6 separate regions of the Homo sapiens genome follow, and all the other regions are linked to region 1. Evidence: promoter capture Hi-C in human tissues and cell types (Jung and others, 2019). All regions are on one chromosome and are shown on one strand. The core of a region is centred on a gene start or on the middle of the fragment in contact, and the rest is flanking DNA. Distances in the headings are between cores, read along the strand shown.

The links. Contacts are between HindIII fragments. The study calls those that stand out against the background at their distance.
Region 2: a fragment that was not itself captured here is called in contact with the fragment with the promoter of CUL9 in region 1 in 4 of the 25 tissues and cell types used here (dorsolateral prefrontal cortex, mesenchymal stem cells, mesendoderm cells and 1 more).
Region 3: a fragment that was not itself captured here is called in contact with the fragment with the promoter of CUL9 in region 1 in 5 of the 25 tissues and cell types used here (H1 embryonic stem cells, IMR-90 fibroblasts, lymphoblastoid cells and 2 more).
Region 4: a contact is called between a fragment that was not itself captured here and the fragment with the promoter of CUL9 in region 1, in 5 of the 25 tissues and cell types used here (aorta, dorsolateral prefrontal cortex, lymphoblastoid cells and 2 more).
Region 5: a contact is called between a fragment that was not itself captured here and the fragment with the promoter of CUL9 in region 1, in 1 of the 25 tissues and cell types used here (spleen).
Region 6: a contact is called between a fragment that was not itself captured here and the fragment with the promoter of CUL9 in region 1, in 1 of the 25 tissues and cell types used here (H1 embryonic stem cells).

The regions. Positions count from the first base shown.
Region 1 is chr6:43,180,866-43,183,565 of GRCh38, reverse strand. CUL9 (cullin 9) reads right to left here and starts at 1,370. Exons shown (of 41, transcript NM_015089.4): 1 at 1,317-1,370. It overlaps SRF (serum response factor), which reads right to left. Exons shown (of 7, transcript NM_003131.4): 7 at 2,060-2,700. RefSeq lists silencers at 1,170-1,219, 1,240-1,379 and an enhancer at 1,630-1,699. The HindIII fragment of the contact is 4,480 bases long and covers 25-2,700 here.
Region 2 is chr6:42,952,147-42,954,846 of GRCh38, reverse strand. The region is part of intron 1 of CNPY3-GNMT (CNPY3-GNMT readthrough); the gene reads right to left. Among named protein-coding and RNA genes, the nearest start is that of GNMT, 7.3 kb to the left of the region's middle. The HindIII fragment of the contact is 5,528 bases long and covers 1-2,700 here.
Region 3 is chr6:43,313,644-43,316,343 of GRCh38, reverse strand. No RefSeq gene overlaps it. Among named protein-coding and RNA genes, the nearest start is that of CRIP3, 6.2 kb to the right of the region's middle. The HindIII fragment of the contact is 4,386 bases long and covers 1-2,700 here.
Region 4 is chr6:43,029,994-43,032,693 of GRCh38, reverse strand. No RefSeq gene overlaps it. Among named protein-coding and RNA genes, the nearest start is that of RRP36, 9.7 kb to the right of the region's middle. The HindIII fragment of the contact is 7,304 bases long and covers 1-2,700 here.
Region 5 is chr6:43,384,072-43,386,771 of GRCh38, reverse strand. No RefSeq gene overlaps it. Among named protein-coding and RNA genes, the nearest start is that of ZNF318, 16 kb to the right of the region's middle. The HindIII fragment of the contact is 5,313 bases long and covers 1-2,700 here.
Region 6 is chr6:43,331,315-43,334,014 of GRCh38, reverse strand. No RefSeq gene overlaps it. Among named protein-coding and RNA genes, the nearest start is that of CRIP3, 24 kb to the right of the region's middle. The HindIII fragment of the contact is 3,101 bases long and covers 1-2,700 here.

The DNA of each region.
Region 1 (2,700 bases), core at 121-2,620:
GACATGGGTGGACAGGAAGGACAGCAGCATGTGAGGCAGTGGGATCAGAACATGTGAGGAAAAGTAGGATAGCGGAGGGGCAGGACAGGGAGCATAAATGACAGAGTAAAGCTGCAAGGTGGATGTAAAGGGTGGGCCATGGCAGATATAGAGAATGGAGATGACAAAAGGCTGGGATGTTGGGGCAAATGACTGGATAGGAAAAGTATATTCGAGTCTTGTGAAAGGGGGAGGGCCCTAGGGACCAGATAAAATTATGGGAAAGATGACCAGGTCCCACCCTGCCCTTATACTGCATGTATGGTAAGGATTTAAGTAAGTTAAGTAGATAAGATAGAGGTGGTAATCATGGGGTTAAAGGTAGGAAATGAGGTCAGGAGAGAAGCAATATTCAGAGACTTCAGTATCAGATAAATGTGACTCTGAATTCTGGCTTTCTGTCTCACTGTCTGCATAGTTTGGAACAAGTTACTTAACCTCTGAGCTTGTTTCCTCTTCTGCAAGATGGTAGTAATATTCATAGTTACTTCATGAATTTAGTAGGATCATGTATGTAAAGCACTTGGAACAGCATCTAGCACATAAAGAGTGTTCAGTAAACATAATCTGTTATTATTCTTAGATGGAGAAGGTAGGGGAGTCATCAAATAAATGCAAAGTTATTAAGACCGATTATAAATGGGAGTGGAATAATCAGGAAAGATATGCGTGATATGAAGCAGTGCAGGGGCAACAGGGAATAGTGAGAATAAGAATGGAAGAAGGTAAACCCAGATGAAGATATAGTGGTCAGGGCAGGGGTCATGTTGGGGTACAGGGACAGAAGATGAGAGTAGAGGTGAAGAGGAGGGAGAAAGATGGATGTGGACCTCAATGGAGGTAGGGGTCCACTTAGGATGGGGGGCAAGCCTGGATGGTAGCCAGCGATGTGCCAGCGGGCAACTGATTAGCAGCAGGGGGAAGTAAAAGAATCGGATAGGAGGAGGTAGGAGGTGTAACGTCGGCCTAGAAGAGCAACAATAAACTGAGGTGTGGGGGTGAGCTCTGGACGCATGGATGAGACCAGCAGATAGCAAGGTCAAGCCCAAGCTTGCAGAGCCGTGGGGAGGTGGAGGAGGCCAGCACCGCAGAGGGAACGGGTTTGGGGGGAGGGGGAAGGATGGTTGGGGGCGCGGTCCAAAAAAGCTGAAAAGATCCAGTGAATCTCAGAGAGCAAGACCTGGTTCCCTTCGTCAGCCCCATGGACAGTGGCTAAAGGACCGGGGAGGGGACAGGAGAAGGGGAGGGATTGGGTCGGCGCAGAACTCTCCTCTCACCTCCCACCGCCCGGCTCAGCCCTCGCTGGGACCCAGCGGCCGGTCCCGCCGTCCTGGCCCCGCCTCCTCAGAGCTCCCTTCCGGGTCACACGGCGAGTGCACGCACGGCCGGGCACCTACGGGTCCCACCGCGGCCCACGCCGAGCGTGGCGGAACAGCGCGCGAGTGGAGCATGCGTGCTACCGCGGGCGGCTGCACTGGAAGAGGGGCGTGGGGGCGCGCTACCGGAGGAGCCTGGGATCGAGGTCACGTTGCTCCTCTCTCAGCAGCAGGAAGAAGCCGTTTCCATCCAGTCAACTGTGAAGCCCCCTCCTCTTCACTGGGTCGGCCCTCCTAATCCTCCCTCTCCCATCACAGCGATCATGCTGACGAAACATGGTAACCCACATTCCCACCTTAAGGCTGCCCTTTTTGACTTTTCAGTAGGTCAGGTGCCCATGAGTTTCCCAAACCCTTCAGCAATGCTTTGGATTAGTTGTGTCACTTTTCCTGTTAATTAAAATTTGCTCCTCTGCGTTGGCCTTAACACCTAGCGAAGCCACGCACAGGGAGAAGGTCCTCGGCCCCGCAAAACTTTCCTTAAATTAAATCGTATAGAATTAAACAGCCCAAAGCACACCTTAGCATTACCGTTCTCATCAAGCAGCCCGGATCGCTACTCAGAGCAGCAATTTTAGGAGTTTGCCTCGCGTTCATACCCCCATCCCTCCCTAAGTAGAAAAACAGAACCAAAGACCCCACAGTCTGTGCACAAAAATGATACATTTATTGAAAGAGTATTTTTTTTTAATACAAAAGAAAGCTCTGTACATAGGACTGTGACCATGTCCACTATTCCTGGGTCAGCATCCCAGGGGAAGTAGAAACCACTGACATACACACTCACATTCAAGCACACACACTCACTCAGGCGCACACACCCACACACACATACCCCAGAGCCACCGAGGAAGGGAAACACCAAGGGTCGCTGCACATAAAAATATCACCTCAACTCATCCCTGACACACGCATGTCCTCCCAAGGCCACGCTCACACAACACACATTATAAGCACTTTGCCTGATTCACTCACTGGGTCTGTCTTTTGTGGGAAGGAGAGGAAGAATTCATCAAAGGTCTCCTCCCCATGGGTGGGGGAGTGGGGAGTGAGTGAGTGATGGTGGAGTGAAACAAGAGCAGAGAAAAGGGGCTGGGCAGTTACAGACCTGAGTCCCAAGCTCCCCTGCTCTCTGGCCCCTGATTTGCCATGCCCCAGCCTTGAAAGCCACCCATAAGCCCCAGCTATCTCCAGGAGAAAGCCCAGAAAGGTGACTTCCATCTTGGCACCCCAAACTGGGGCAAGACAGCAATGAGGGTTAGAGGTTAGGGGGTTCTCAAACATG
Region 2 (2,700 bases), core at 138-2,637, 230 kb after region 1:
AAGGCCATTTTTACTTTCTGCAGAAAGGGTACCCTCGTCAGCAGTTTTGCCATGAGAGTACACTGAACAAAGGAGACAGGGTCATTTATAACCTGACGCGTCCACCCTACTGCTGTGTCCGGTTTCCATTGGCTGGAATGGGACTTCACATTTTGTATTTGTCCCGATTGGCTAGCAACTTAGAACTTTTAAAAGAGGCAAAGGCAGAGGAGAACAAAGGAAGGGGAAGTAACTTGTGGAATGCTGAGAAAGGTAAAAACACCTTCAAATAAGGATGAGGAACAGGCTATGACCTAATGTTTGTTTGGACCAGTATAAGCATGCCAGGGCAAATATTTAGGCTACATTGTGGGAGCTAAGAACATAAAGGACATTGATTTCTTTATTATGACTTGCAGATATTTAAGAATGTCACCACAGATCTTTGAATAAATTTTGCTTCTAAGAGAAGTTACTATTTATCCCTAATTAGATGGGGAGGAAAGTCTTTGAAGAGGAACCTCTACTTTTTATAATAGCGATTCTCCTACCTCAGCCTCCCAAGTATACAGGTGCTCGCCACCACATCAGGCTAATTTTTATATTTTTAGTAGAGACGGGGTTTCACCATGTTGGACAAGCTGCTTTCTAACTCCTGATCTCAGGTGATCCGCCCGCCTCAGCCTCCCAAAGTGCTGGGATCACAGGCGTGAGCCACTGCGCCTGACCGAGGATGGCATCTTTGATGTAAATAAGCTTTTCCCAAATTCACAGATTAAGACTTCTACTGTCATAAAACTCTTATCTTTCAATATTTGTTCTTGCTTATGCCTCTATGAACAATAAAAGTGGAAAAGGCATCTGTTATGTGCACTAATGGGATGTACTTTTATTTGTGAAGGAGTTTGCAGCCAACCTTATATATGGATAACTTTATACTTTAATAGATAAAAAATGAAGGCCCAGTGCAGGTAAAAAACTTTAATGGGGCCAGGCACGGTGGCTTATGCCTGTAATCCCAGCACTTTGGGAGGCCGAGGCAGGTGGATCACCTGAAGTCAGGAGGTTGAGACCAGTCTAGCCAATGTGGTGAAACCCCATCTCTACTAAAAAAATATATATATATATATACATAAAAATTAGCTGGGCATGGTGGTGCACCTGTAATCCCAGCTACTCGGGAGGCTGAGGCATGAGAATCGCTTGAACCCGGGAGGCAGAGGTTGCAGTGAGCCAAGATGGTGCCATTGCACTCTAGCCTGGGCAACAAAAGCGAAACTTCGTCTCAAAAAAAAAAAAGTATCCCTCATGATGGGTTCTATAGCAAATTCTACTGTAAAGGCTACAGTTATACAATAGACTTTAAATTCTCTTGTGAAAGTTAAGATAGAATTGGCTAAACAGAGAAGTATCTGTGCAGCTGCTGGCACTTGTGGCCTACGGAGAAATACATCACATGAAGATTATAGAAATATAGTGGTAGGGGATTAACAAAGAGACTGCTTAGTCAAATGAGTAAACTTTTTTTTTTTTTTGAGACGGAGTTTTGCTCTTGTTGCCCAGGCTGGAGTGCAATGGCACGATCTCGGCTCACCGCAACCTCTGCCTCCCGGGTTCAAGCGATTCTCCTGCCTCAGCCTCCCGAGTAGCTGGGACTACAGGCATGCACCACCATGCCTGGCTAATTTTGTGTTTTTAGTAGAGACGGGGTTTCACCATGTTGGTCAGGCTGGTCTTGAACTCCCGACCTCAGGTGATCTGCCCATCTCGGCCTCCCAAAGTGCTGGGATTACAGACATGAGCCACCACGCCCGGCCATGAGTAAACTCTTTATCTAGTTCATTCTTTGATCTATGTGATTTTAGGTGGTTTGGTTTATGGGGAACCTGGGTAAGGAGCATACTCCAAACTCTTGGTATCATCCTCCCGATAGTCATAATAATAGTCTCCCTGGTGCGCTCTATTCTCTCAAAGGTTTTAAATGCTTGCGTGCAGCCATCTCTAGAATGTCAAATGGTCTCTCTTCAACTGGAATAACAGGAGCTAAAAAAATGTGCAACCATAAGGACACTATAAGCTATAAATGATGTGCTGAGATAGGAAACCCAAAATGATGGTAACTGAGAGTGGCGCTAAGTCCCTAAGGTTTGGTCACACTCTCACTTAAATGACAGCCTAACCAAAAAGGGTAATTTTTTAAACAAAATTATGGAAGGCCATTGTTTTGGACTAGGCTCATGCACTAGGCCTCAACAAACCAAACCAAAATGGAGTCGCTCATGCTAGGACTTTAAGGAAACACATAGATTCTAAAACAGACCAAGTTTTTTTTCTCCTGCAAATCTCTATGACAAACCTTTCTTTTTTTTTTTTTCTGAGACGGAGTCTCACTCCCTCGCCCCCAGACTGGAGTGCAGTGGCTCAATCTCAGCTTATTGCAACCTCCACCTCCCAGGTTCAAGCAACATTCCTGCCTCAGCCTCCTGAGTAGCTAGGATTACAGGCATGCACCACCCCGCCCGGCTAATTTTTTTGTATTTAGTAGAGACAGGGTTTCACTATGTTGGCCAGGCTGATCCTGAACTCCTGACCTCGTGATCTGCCTGCCTCGGCCTCCCAAAGTGCTGGGATTACAGACGTAAGCCACTGCGCCTGGTCAATATAACAAACATTTCTAACAGCATAGGTATCCACCCCCTGCAGTTCCCATTAAATGTTTTA
Region 3 (2,700 bases), core at 113-2,612, 130 kb before region 1:
CCTAGGCAGCTGAACTTCCTTCACTCCAGGACACTCGTTGTTACCAACTCTCAACCTCTACCAGTCCCCTCTTATTCCCACATCTCTCACTAGCACTCATCTATCACACTCAGGGGGACTTGTATATAACATGTAACATTCATTCACCAGCAAGTATTTGTTGAGCACTATGTGCCAGAGATTTGAGCAAGGCACTGGAAATATATGCAATGGTTGGCAAAGCAGCCTGGTCCCTGCTCTCATGGATCTCACAGACTAAGGGGGCAGACAAAGCCCAGATTGGAGTGGAGGAGGTAGGCAGGAAGTTACCATATTTATTTCACTTTCTAAACTACAACCTGTCCTTTATCAATAATAAAGATGATGGGCTGGGTGGTGGCTCATGTCTGTAATCCCAGCACTTTGAGAGGCCAAGGTGAGTGGATCACTTGAAGTCAAAAGTCCAAGACCAGCCTGGCCAACATGGTGAAACCTTGTCTCTACTAAAAATACAAAAATTAGCCGGGCATGGTGGCACACTCCTGTAATCCCAGCTACTAGGGAGGCTGGGGCAGGAGAATTACTTGAACCTGGGAGGCAGAGATTGCAGTGAGCTGAGATCATGCCACTGCACTCCAGCCTGGGCAACAGAATGAGACTGTCTCAAAATAGTAATAATAATAATAATAAAGGATCTCTGTTTGTCTTTTATTTCTTATTTGGTTCAGCACTCAGGGAAAACACAGCTGTCATAGTTTGGGCCCCCTCTACCCTCCAGGAGAGGATGGTGGTATAGAAACAGTGCTTGGGGTCAATAACCTGGTGTGGAGTAGTTGAGGGGGAGCTGAGGTTAGGTAGGAATTGATGAGGTGAAGATACTGGGGAAGTGAATTCTCAGAAAAGATGGCCTTTGCAAAAGCCCTGAGGCAGAATAGAACTTAACAGATTCAAGAAGCTCATTTGATGTGGATGGAGGGGTCGATGCAACAGGAGAAATGGCTAGAAGACTGGAAAAGTGGAGGGTCCTGTCTTGAGGATACTGAGAAATCATGGAAAGGTTTTAATGACATTTCCCTGCCCCTTGCATCTCAACCCATTATTTTCCTGGATAGGCCCTCTTATCTTCAGGTATGGAGGTGCTGTGCAGACAAGTGTAGTGTCTTTTCAGGTTGAAACACATGGGCAAAAACCATGCTTAGGGGGGTATAGAGTGGAAAGAGTATGGGCTCAAGAGTCAGAATGCTTGGGTCTGTATGATGTTTTACACATTTCTTTTTTTCTTTTTCTTTGAGACTGAGTCTTGCTCTGTCGTCCAGGCTGGACTGCAGTGGTGCGATCTCGGCTCACTGCAACCTCCACCTCCCAGGTTCAAGCAATTCTCATGCCTCAGCCTCCTGAGTAGCTGGGATTACAGGCACCTGCCACCACGCCCAGCTAAGTTTTTTGTATTTTAAGTAGAGACGGGGTTTCACCATGGTGGACAGTCTGGTCTCGAACTCCTAACCTCAGGTGATCCTCCCACTTCGGCCTCCCAAAGTGCTGGGATTACAGGCATGAGCCACCGCACCTGGCCAAATGTTTTACTAATTTCGTAACCTTACCAAGCCACTTTCTTTTTTATACAATTGGGAATGTAACATTTCTACCCTTCATCAGCTCTAGTAATGCCCTCTTTCTAACACAAGTTTCAAGCTCCTTTTTGGGAAAGGAATCACAGAATCATAATTGTTAAATCATGAAGAGGCTTTAAAGTTCTATCTGCATATGATATTTGGATACCTTCTGCAACACTGAGGATCAGTTGGTTTATTGTCCAGTATTGTGTCCAGAAACAGGAAGCTCACCACTGTCTGAAGCAGCCACTCTATATTGGGGCTCTATTAAAAGGGTTTTGGAGGGGACCTAATCCAAATCTGCTTCCCTGTGTTCTCTCTCCAGGGGTCTTGGTAGTACCCCTAATGCCTTTTCCATGTGACAGCCCTCCAGGGACTAGAAGTCACTATCTCTACGGGACCACTTACTCACCTAGAATGGAAAAGCTTGTTTCTTCAGCTTTTCTAACAACACTAATCAAACGGTTAATTCCTCGAGCAAACACAATCCTGAAACATTTATGTACCTAATAATAGAGCTTAAAAACATGAAGTAAAGTTAGTGGGAGAGTTTAATAATAATAGCTATCATTTACTGATTACCTATACTGCACTCACTGTTAAAGATACACAGATAATTCTCCATCAGTTCTGTCAAAGTCAAACAAGTAAACAAGTGTCATACAATGTTACAGATACTGTAACAGAGGTCTGTGCAGGAAAAAGGCAGGGCGGGCACTAAGGGAACAGTGGTCTTTGTGAGAAAGAGGCCTGCCTCTAATGGGAGATGACACAAACTGCACCTTAACAATTGAGTAATACCTTCTTTGAGGTGGACTTACCCATCTGTAGTATTTATTAAAATATCATTTTAGAGACTTTAGTCACACCAACTGTTCTTCAAAACATCCACTGTCAGTAACTCAAATGCATTCCTACAAGAAATGTGTTTTCCCAGTTATTCTTTACATAGCTTCTGTTCGAGTCAATAATGGAAACCAGGCAAAGAAGAAAAGTGGACTACTGTAATTTGCTGTACCTGCAAATGCATAGTGCAAGTGTTTGGAAGGGTGGAGCCTCAACTAGTCTTTCCTAAGCACTGAAATAGAAGAGCCGAAGCATATTGTGA
Region 4 (2,700 bases), core at 167-2,666, 150 kb after region 1:
GCCGCCTGAGTATTCTTTGTAGAGATGCAGTTTCACCATGTTGCCCAGGCTGGATAGACTTTCAAATGTTCCTGGCTTATGATTTATCTAGCCTTAAAAAAAAAACAAAAAAAACAAAAAAAAAACTAGGCCAGGTGCGGTGGCTCACACCTGTAAACCTATCACTTTGGGAGGCCTAGGTGGGTGGATTACTTGAGGTCAGGAGTTTGAGACCAGCTGGCCAACACGGTGAAACCCCATCCCTACAAAAAAAAAAATTAGCCAGGTGTGGTGGCATACACCTGAAATACCAGCTGCTCAGGGAGCTGAGGCAGAAGAATAGCTTTAACCTGGGAGGAAGAGGTTACAGTGAGCCAAGATCGTGCCACTGCACTCCAGCTTGGGCGACAGAGGGAGACCCCATCTCAAAAAAAATTCTAGAAAATGCCCAGCCTCTTTGAAATATTCTTTCCTGAAATTTTGATTGTCAAGTCTCACATTTATCTTCATTTTGTTGTTTTATAGACAGGATCTTGCTCTGTCACCCAGGCTGGAGTGCAGTGATGCCATCATAGCTCACTGCAACCTCAAGTTCCTGGGGTCAAGCAATCCTCCAGCCTGAGCCTCCAGAGAAGCTGGGACTATAGGCATGTGCCACATGTCTGATTTTTTAATTTTTTTTTAGAGACAAGGTCTCCTTATGTTGCCCAGGCTGGTCCCCAACTGAGGACCTCAAGCAGTCCTCTCTATGCCTCCCAAAAAGTTGGGATTACAGGTGTCAGCAACTACACCCAGCCTCTTCCATGTTTTTTAACCTCTTTTCCTTAGTTTCCACTTCTCTGTATGTCAGTGCTCTCTCTGTGTAACTTCAGATCTATTTCCAGTTCATTCTCCCTTTAGGGAGAAGTCTAATCTGCTGCTTAACCATAAAGTTTCTAACTTCTCGTAGTGTACTTTTTTTTTTCTGAGGTGGAGTATCACTCTTGTTGCCCAGGCTGGAGTGCAGTGGCGCAATCTTGGCTCACCGCAACCTCCGCCTCCTAGGTTCAAGCAATTCTCCTGCCTCAGCCTCCCAAGTAGCTAGGATTACAGGCATGCGCCACCACGCCCGGCTAATTTTTTGTATTTTTAGTAGAGACGGGGTTTCACCATGTTGGCCAGGCTAGTCTCGAACTCCCAACCTCAGGCGATCCACCCACCTCAGCCTCCCAAAGTGCTGGGATTACAGGCACGAGCCACCATGCCTGGCCCTACTTTTCATTTTTAAAAGGTTTTCTTTTTAAGTTTTACTTTTTTTTTTTTTTTTTTTGAGATGGAGTCTCGCTCTGTTCCCCAGGCTGGAGTGCAGTGGCACGATCTCGGCTCACTGCAAGCTCTGCCTCCCAGGTTCATGCCATCCTCCTGCCTCAGCCTCCAGAGTAGCTGGGACTACAGGCACCCGCCACCACGCCTGGCTAATTTTTTGTATTTTTAGTAGAGATAGGGTTTCACTGTACTAGCCAGGATGGTCTCCATCTCCTGACCTCGTGATCCACCCGCTTTGGCCTCCCAAAGTGCTGGGAACACAGGCGTGAGCCACCGTGACCGGCCTTAAGTTTTACTTTTTAATCACACCAGTTTAGTACCTTTTGATATTCATTTGTCACACTTTTTCTTTAAACATAAGACATTTTGTATTTTTTATTTTATACTTCTCACATTTTAATTTTTGCCAGTCTGGACGACAGAGTGAGACTCCATCTCAAAAACAAAAAACAAACAAAAAAAAAACAATCCTCAAGAAAGGATTACATTTGCTTCTGCCAGGACCCTGGAGACACTATCTACTTGAGACTTTTTTTTTTTTTGAGACGGAGTCTCGCTCTGTCGCCCAGGCTGGAGTGCAGTGGCGCGATCTTGGTTCACTGCAACCTCCGCCTCCCGCGTTCAAGCAATTCTCCTGCTTCAGCCTCCTGAGTAGCTGGGATTACAGGCGCCCACCACCACACCCGGCTAATTTTTGTATTTTTAGTAGAGACAGGGTTTCACCATGTTGGTCAGGCTGGTCTCGAACCCCTGACCTCGTGATCCACCTGCCTCTGCCTCCCAAAGTGCTGGGATTACAGGTGTGAGCCACCATGCCTGGCCATTTTTTTTTGGGGGGGGGGGCGCGGTGGTGATTTCACTCTTTTTGCCCAGGCTGGAGTGCAGTGGTGCGATCTTGGCTCACTGCAACCTCTACCTCCCAGGCTCAAGTGATTATCCTACCTCAGCCTCCTGAGTAGCTGGGATTACAGGCACCCACCACCACACCCAGCTAATTTTGTATTTTTAGTAGAGATGGGGTTTCACCATGTTGGCCAGGCTGGTCTTGAACTCCTGACCTCAGGTGATCCGCCTGCCTCGGCCTCCCAAAGTGGTGGGATTACAGGTGTGAGCCACCACGCCCAGCCTACTTGAGACTATTTTAAACTAAGTTATCAGCCTGAGGATTTTCCAGACCACATGGGTTATAAACTCTTGTCCCAAACAGTACTGAAGGCCAGCTGTGCTTGTATATTACCATGGAAGCTTTATATCCCTACCTCTTAACATCCCTTGCATCCAAAACCAAAGCCAAGTAGGGGAGTTGTGGGATTGGTTCACCCACTAAATGATCTTGTCATCCTTGAGGGGCCCAGATTTAAGTGGGAGGGGTTTCTGATCTGACTTCCCAGTTGTAGATGCCTTAGGCTTTATTGC
Region 5 (2,700 bases), core at 127-2,626, 200 kb before region 1:
ATTTTCAAAAAGAGATTGAGTCTGGCCTCATTTAAACTGCTGCCAAAGAACAAGAATAACTGTGAAAGAAGCTCCCTCTAGAGGTGAGAAAGTATGAGAATTATTTACATTTATAATAGTAATGAGGTTACAAAACTATACGATCACATCTGCTAAGAAAACACAGTTTTCTATGTCAGGATTTGTTGGAGGATTTTTGTGTGCTTGTGAAAGCTGGATCCAGGGGACATGTAAACAACTTTGGCTGGCAGTTTGGCCCTATGATTAATGGATACCAAATACACAAATACAGAATTGAATCTAAGAAAACACAGAACAGTACTACATCTACTAGAAAGGCTTACATTAAAAAGAAAACCTGACAATACCAATATTTGGCAAGAATCTGGAGCAGGTATAGTGCTTATACACTGCCAGTGTATGAAGTTCAAGAATCAGAAAAACTGATCAAGGATATTAGAAGTCAGAAGAATGGTTACATCTATTTTGAGAGAGTGTTAGTGAAAAGAAAGGGATGCCACACATGGTGGCTCACAGTCATAATCCCAGCATTTCGGGAGGCTGAGGTGGGAGGATCACTTGAGCCCAGGAGTTTGAGACCAGCCTGGGCAACACAGAATACCCCATCTCTCTCTCTCTCTCTCTCTCTCTTTTTTCTGAGATAGAGTCTTGCTCTGTCACCCAGGCTGGAGTGCAGTGGTTTGATCTCAGTTCACTGCAACCTCCACCTCTTGGGTTCAAGCAATTTTCCTGCCTCAGCCTCCCAAAATGCTGGGATTACAGGTGCCTGCCACCACACCCAGCTAATTTTTGTATTTTCAGTACAGACGGGGTTTCACCATATTGGCCAGGCTGGTCTTGAACTCCTGACCTCAGGTGATCCACCTGCCTCGGCCTCCCAAAGTGCTGGGATTACAGGTATGAGCAACTGCACCCGGCCCCTATCTCTTAAAAAATGAAAAGAAAGAGAAAGAGAGAGAGAGAGAGAAAAGTACGAAATACAAACAAGACATTGATGAAGGCAAGAAGGTAAAATAAATAAATAAACAAATAAATGCAATTGAAAAGGAAGACATTAATCCAGTGAAGTATTTTTCTTTGGCTTAATAGCAGAAAACAACAGATATAACACACATCAATCTACACTGTCTCATGGTTACATGAACTTTCTGACTCTGCTACAAGTTAGCACATAGGGATCCTGACCCATCTTACCATCTCACAAGATATGCTGGCCCACTGAACTCATGACATCAAACTAATAGGGCATATGGAGTAAAAAATAGCAAGTATCTTACACGCTTTAGGAAATATATGTATACCGGAAGGTAGGGAGGTTCAAGTACAAAGGCTTTTCACTTCACTGATATTTCTTGATGTTTAGTGATCTTGCATACAGGTGCTCCCTTCAAAATGAAGGACAAGTTGCTTTACTTGTGCTACCTACCCCTAAACCAAAAGAGTCACATCACTTAGGTGAATTTAGAGACAACATTGATCATATTTGGGTTACTGCTCTGACCTCCTTATCTGGTCACTTGAAATGAAGCCATACTTGAGTGAGATTCAGAGGAAGAAAAGGTTCTCCAGCTGGTCCAGTCTGCAGTGCAACTTAGTCCTTGCGATCCTTATAATGTTCAAAGTGTTTGTGGCAGACTGAGGTACTTTATCATCTATGGCATGTCCTGATAGAATAATCATAGCAGAGGCCCTCTGAGCATGCCTTTTGGCAGGTAAATATTCTCTCTTTGAGAATCAGCTCTCAGCTTGCTGCTGGGCCACGGACACAGCATGATCATGGAACCCAGCATGATCACAGCATAATCATGAACTGGCTATCATCTGGTCTTCCTAGGTATAAAGCTGGTTCATACCTAGGACATGGATCCATTATCAAGTAGAAATGACATACACAAAATGAGGCCACAGCAGATCCTGAAAACACAAATGGCTCCTAGCACCCACACCACTACTTCTGCTGCATTGCTATTTCATCTACCACTATAACCAATGAAATGGGCCTTGTTACCAGACTGCAGTGGAATAAAGTCATGATTAGTTTGTAGCTGTCTTCACCTAATGTGCTGGCATTAGAAAGAAATGGGCTGCTGTGATACTGTGGCCCCCAATCAAGGGTGACCCTGAAGGACACTGAGGATAGTCAGGACTTCAAGAAATACAACTACCTGACCAGTTTTCCCAGAAGGAGAAACAGGTTAAGAGTCTACACTGATTTGGCCGGGCCCGGTGGCTCATGCCTGTAATCCCAGCACTTTGGGAGGCCGAGGCAGGTGGATCACGAGGTCAGGAGATCGAGATCATCCTGCCTAGCATGGTGAAACCCCGTCTCTACTAAAAAATACAAAAAAAACCCCAAAAAAATTAGCCAGGCATGGCGGCACGCACCTGTAGTTCCAGCTGCGTGAACCTGGGAGGCAGAGCTTGCAGGGAGCTGAGATCGCGCCACTGCACTCCGGCCTGGGTGACAGAGCGAGACTCCATCTCAAAAAAAAAAAAAAAAAAAAAGAGTCTGAGGTTAATGGTTTGGCTAGATGATTAGGGAGTTAGAAGTGATATTAAAATGAAGTTGGAGAAGTATAATGTGGAAGAACTTCTTAAAATGGTTCCCAAATGTGACAGTATCTGTCATGATTCAGTTGCAGACCACAGATACCACTCTACTTAATTTAAGGGAGAAGG
Region 6 (2,700 bases), core at 1-2,500, 150 kb before region 1:
TAGGAACATAAAGTGTAATTTTAAAAATTGGAGGAGGGTTCAGAGAGGATGTAGCCTGTAACAGAAATAAGTGAGGTAGTTTCTTTTACATATATATATATGTATATATGTATATAGTTTTATATATACTATATATAGTATAGTTTCTTTTATATATATAATATAGATAATATATATATAAACATATATAGGCAAGCTTTGTTGATATATTAATATATATCCCTAAACCTTGGTTCTCACCTTAACAAAGCTTACATACTAAATCTAGGATAAGAACCTAAACAAAGTCTTCATTTATTAACGATTTATGTGAGAACATGGACAAATAGTTTTGTGAGCACATCTCTTTAGAGTTTAAAATTGCAGTAATTTTTATGTAATTTTTAACTAAGTTGTGTATACAATATTCATCGATAAGCCACGAAGTTGAATTTATAATGAAAATCTTCTACTCTTAAAATCACAACTCTCCTGATTTGCCCTCAACCCATATACACTTCCAGAAGAATACATATAAAACATGTATGTTTATGTTGTAGCATTTAATGTGGTTGTAATTTTACATTTATGTTTCTTTGATTAATATATGCTCCCCTTAAGTACATGATAAACTCCCCAAAGCAAGAAGTCTGTCTTTGCTTACTATTTTTTTAATCATTGTATTCACAGTGCACAGTTGTCTGGCATATAGCAGGTACTCAATAAAAATTCATTGAAAGAATCAATGTGGTAATAGTAGCTGTTTTTATTAACAAATTGTGAATACTTAGCAAATTATAAGTCAGTAAAAACTGTAAATTGCCTATTGTATTTTCTGGGTGTTTAGCACTCTAGAAGCCAGCTGTCCTCTTGCTTCTGTCCTGGGTCTTTGTATACAAAGCACTGTATCATTGAGGCATGTCAAGGTTGCCATTGGTTCCCTCACTTCAACAGCATTCTGGAATAATGGCACCAGGCCATGATGGGAACACTGCTTCTGCAGCTCCTAGAAGAGAAACTGAGGATGAGAAGGAGTTAAACTGACCTTACAGTTAGCAAAAACAAAAGGTTTTGGGGATCCAGTTTTCAAATGGCCTCCTTTTTCCTTCCAGCCAGACTTCATAAGCATGCTGAAGTCAGTCAAACCCCAAACCCCTCTGATTTGGTTGAAGAAGTAATTCAACAGTTTATGGTCTCCAGCATCCTCTTGTCATCTCATCAAAACTAAATCGTAACCAAAAAAGGTTGCCTTTGGGAGAGGGAAAAGGAATGCTATCACTTTTTATTTTGTATCTTCTGTTTTGTTTCAACATTGTGACCATGAAAATGCATTTTCTATAAAATATAAATGTTTTATAAACTATACACATGCACACACATACATGTATAAAATGATAACATGTAGTAAGGGTTATCCAGTGCTGTGGAATTATAGGCCAGTTTTTTTTTTACCCCTCTGTATACTTTTCTGTATTAAAATTATTTTTTTTAAGTTGTGTCTCTCCTACTCAGTGCATCCCTGTTTTCCTTCACACCTCTTGTCTGTTTTCCATCATTACAAATAGGTCCTGCTGCTTTTCCCTCAAGACTTCCTAAATTCTTCTATTCCCATCGATGCTGGGCAACATACCTTCTTCAGGAATGTCTTACCATTCTTTCCTTCTTCCTCTCTTCCTCTTCCCATTCTTTCCCCAACCTCTGTTGAACTGGTTGTTCATATTCATTAATGTTGTACAAGCACTTGGACATTAAATGATATAAATCAAGATACCTGTTTCACAAAGTAATACAGGTACACAAAAGATAAAAAAAGTCTGTCGCATGCAAAAGGACAGAAGATAACATCTAGATGTAATGATTTAAAGATTTACAGGCTTTGGTTCCATTTGTGGAGGATTAGGCAAGAAAGAAGTTTTGTAGAAAATAAGGGAAATGAGTATGTTTAAGGGAAGTGAACGAACAGGGTGAAAACAGAGGCAGAGTTACATAACGGGAGAACAAAAGGTAGAGGATGTGGAGAAAGCAGAGATAAAATCAGCCATATTAAGATATTATTTTATTTCGTCTCTCTGACACTCTGTCCCTGCTAAGTTTCCACCCAGCCTTCCTGTAACCACCTTCCTAAGGATGACTATGGTCACATTGTTACAGACTCTCACCCACTTATCTTCCTTTCTTTTCAGGGGCAATTCCAAAAGTCTTCAGATTTCCAAAAGGAAGGACTGCAGCAGACATTTCTGCCCCCAGAAAGGCAGGGATAGAAACCACAGAGGCCACGGAAATGATGGGTGCCCTTGTGGCCAGTAGGCAATCACCTGAAGGATCTGACTTCCAGAAGGTGGGTATGACTGATGGGGGTGGGGATAAGTTGTAGAGAAGATCCTGTCATTTTAGCTGCCAGGAAATGGTGAGTTGGGTGAGTGAATGTGTATATTGTTGTACCTGTAGAGGATGAACAAGATTAGAATGTACATAGAGGGTATGTATTTTAGACTTGCCACTCCTCACCTTATTTAGCATTGAATAAATTATTCCTGAAGTCCCATATCTCATTTTGTGCCATGATACTTACATTAAAGCTGTAGAGTTCAGGTCTTCATATTCTTCCTGGGCCCTAGTCTCCAATGTGCCCCTAAGTAGAACATCTCTTATCTCAGTTCTAGCCTCTTTTATTGGTCCATACAAAGACAAAGTAAAATTGGGTATGTCCTTAGAAGATTG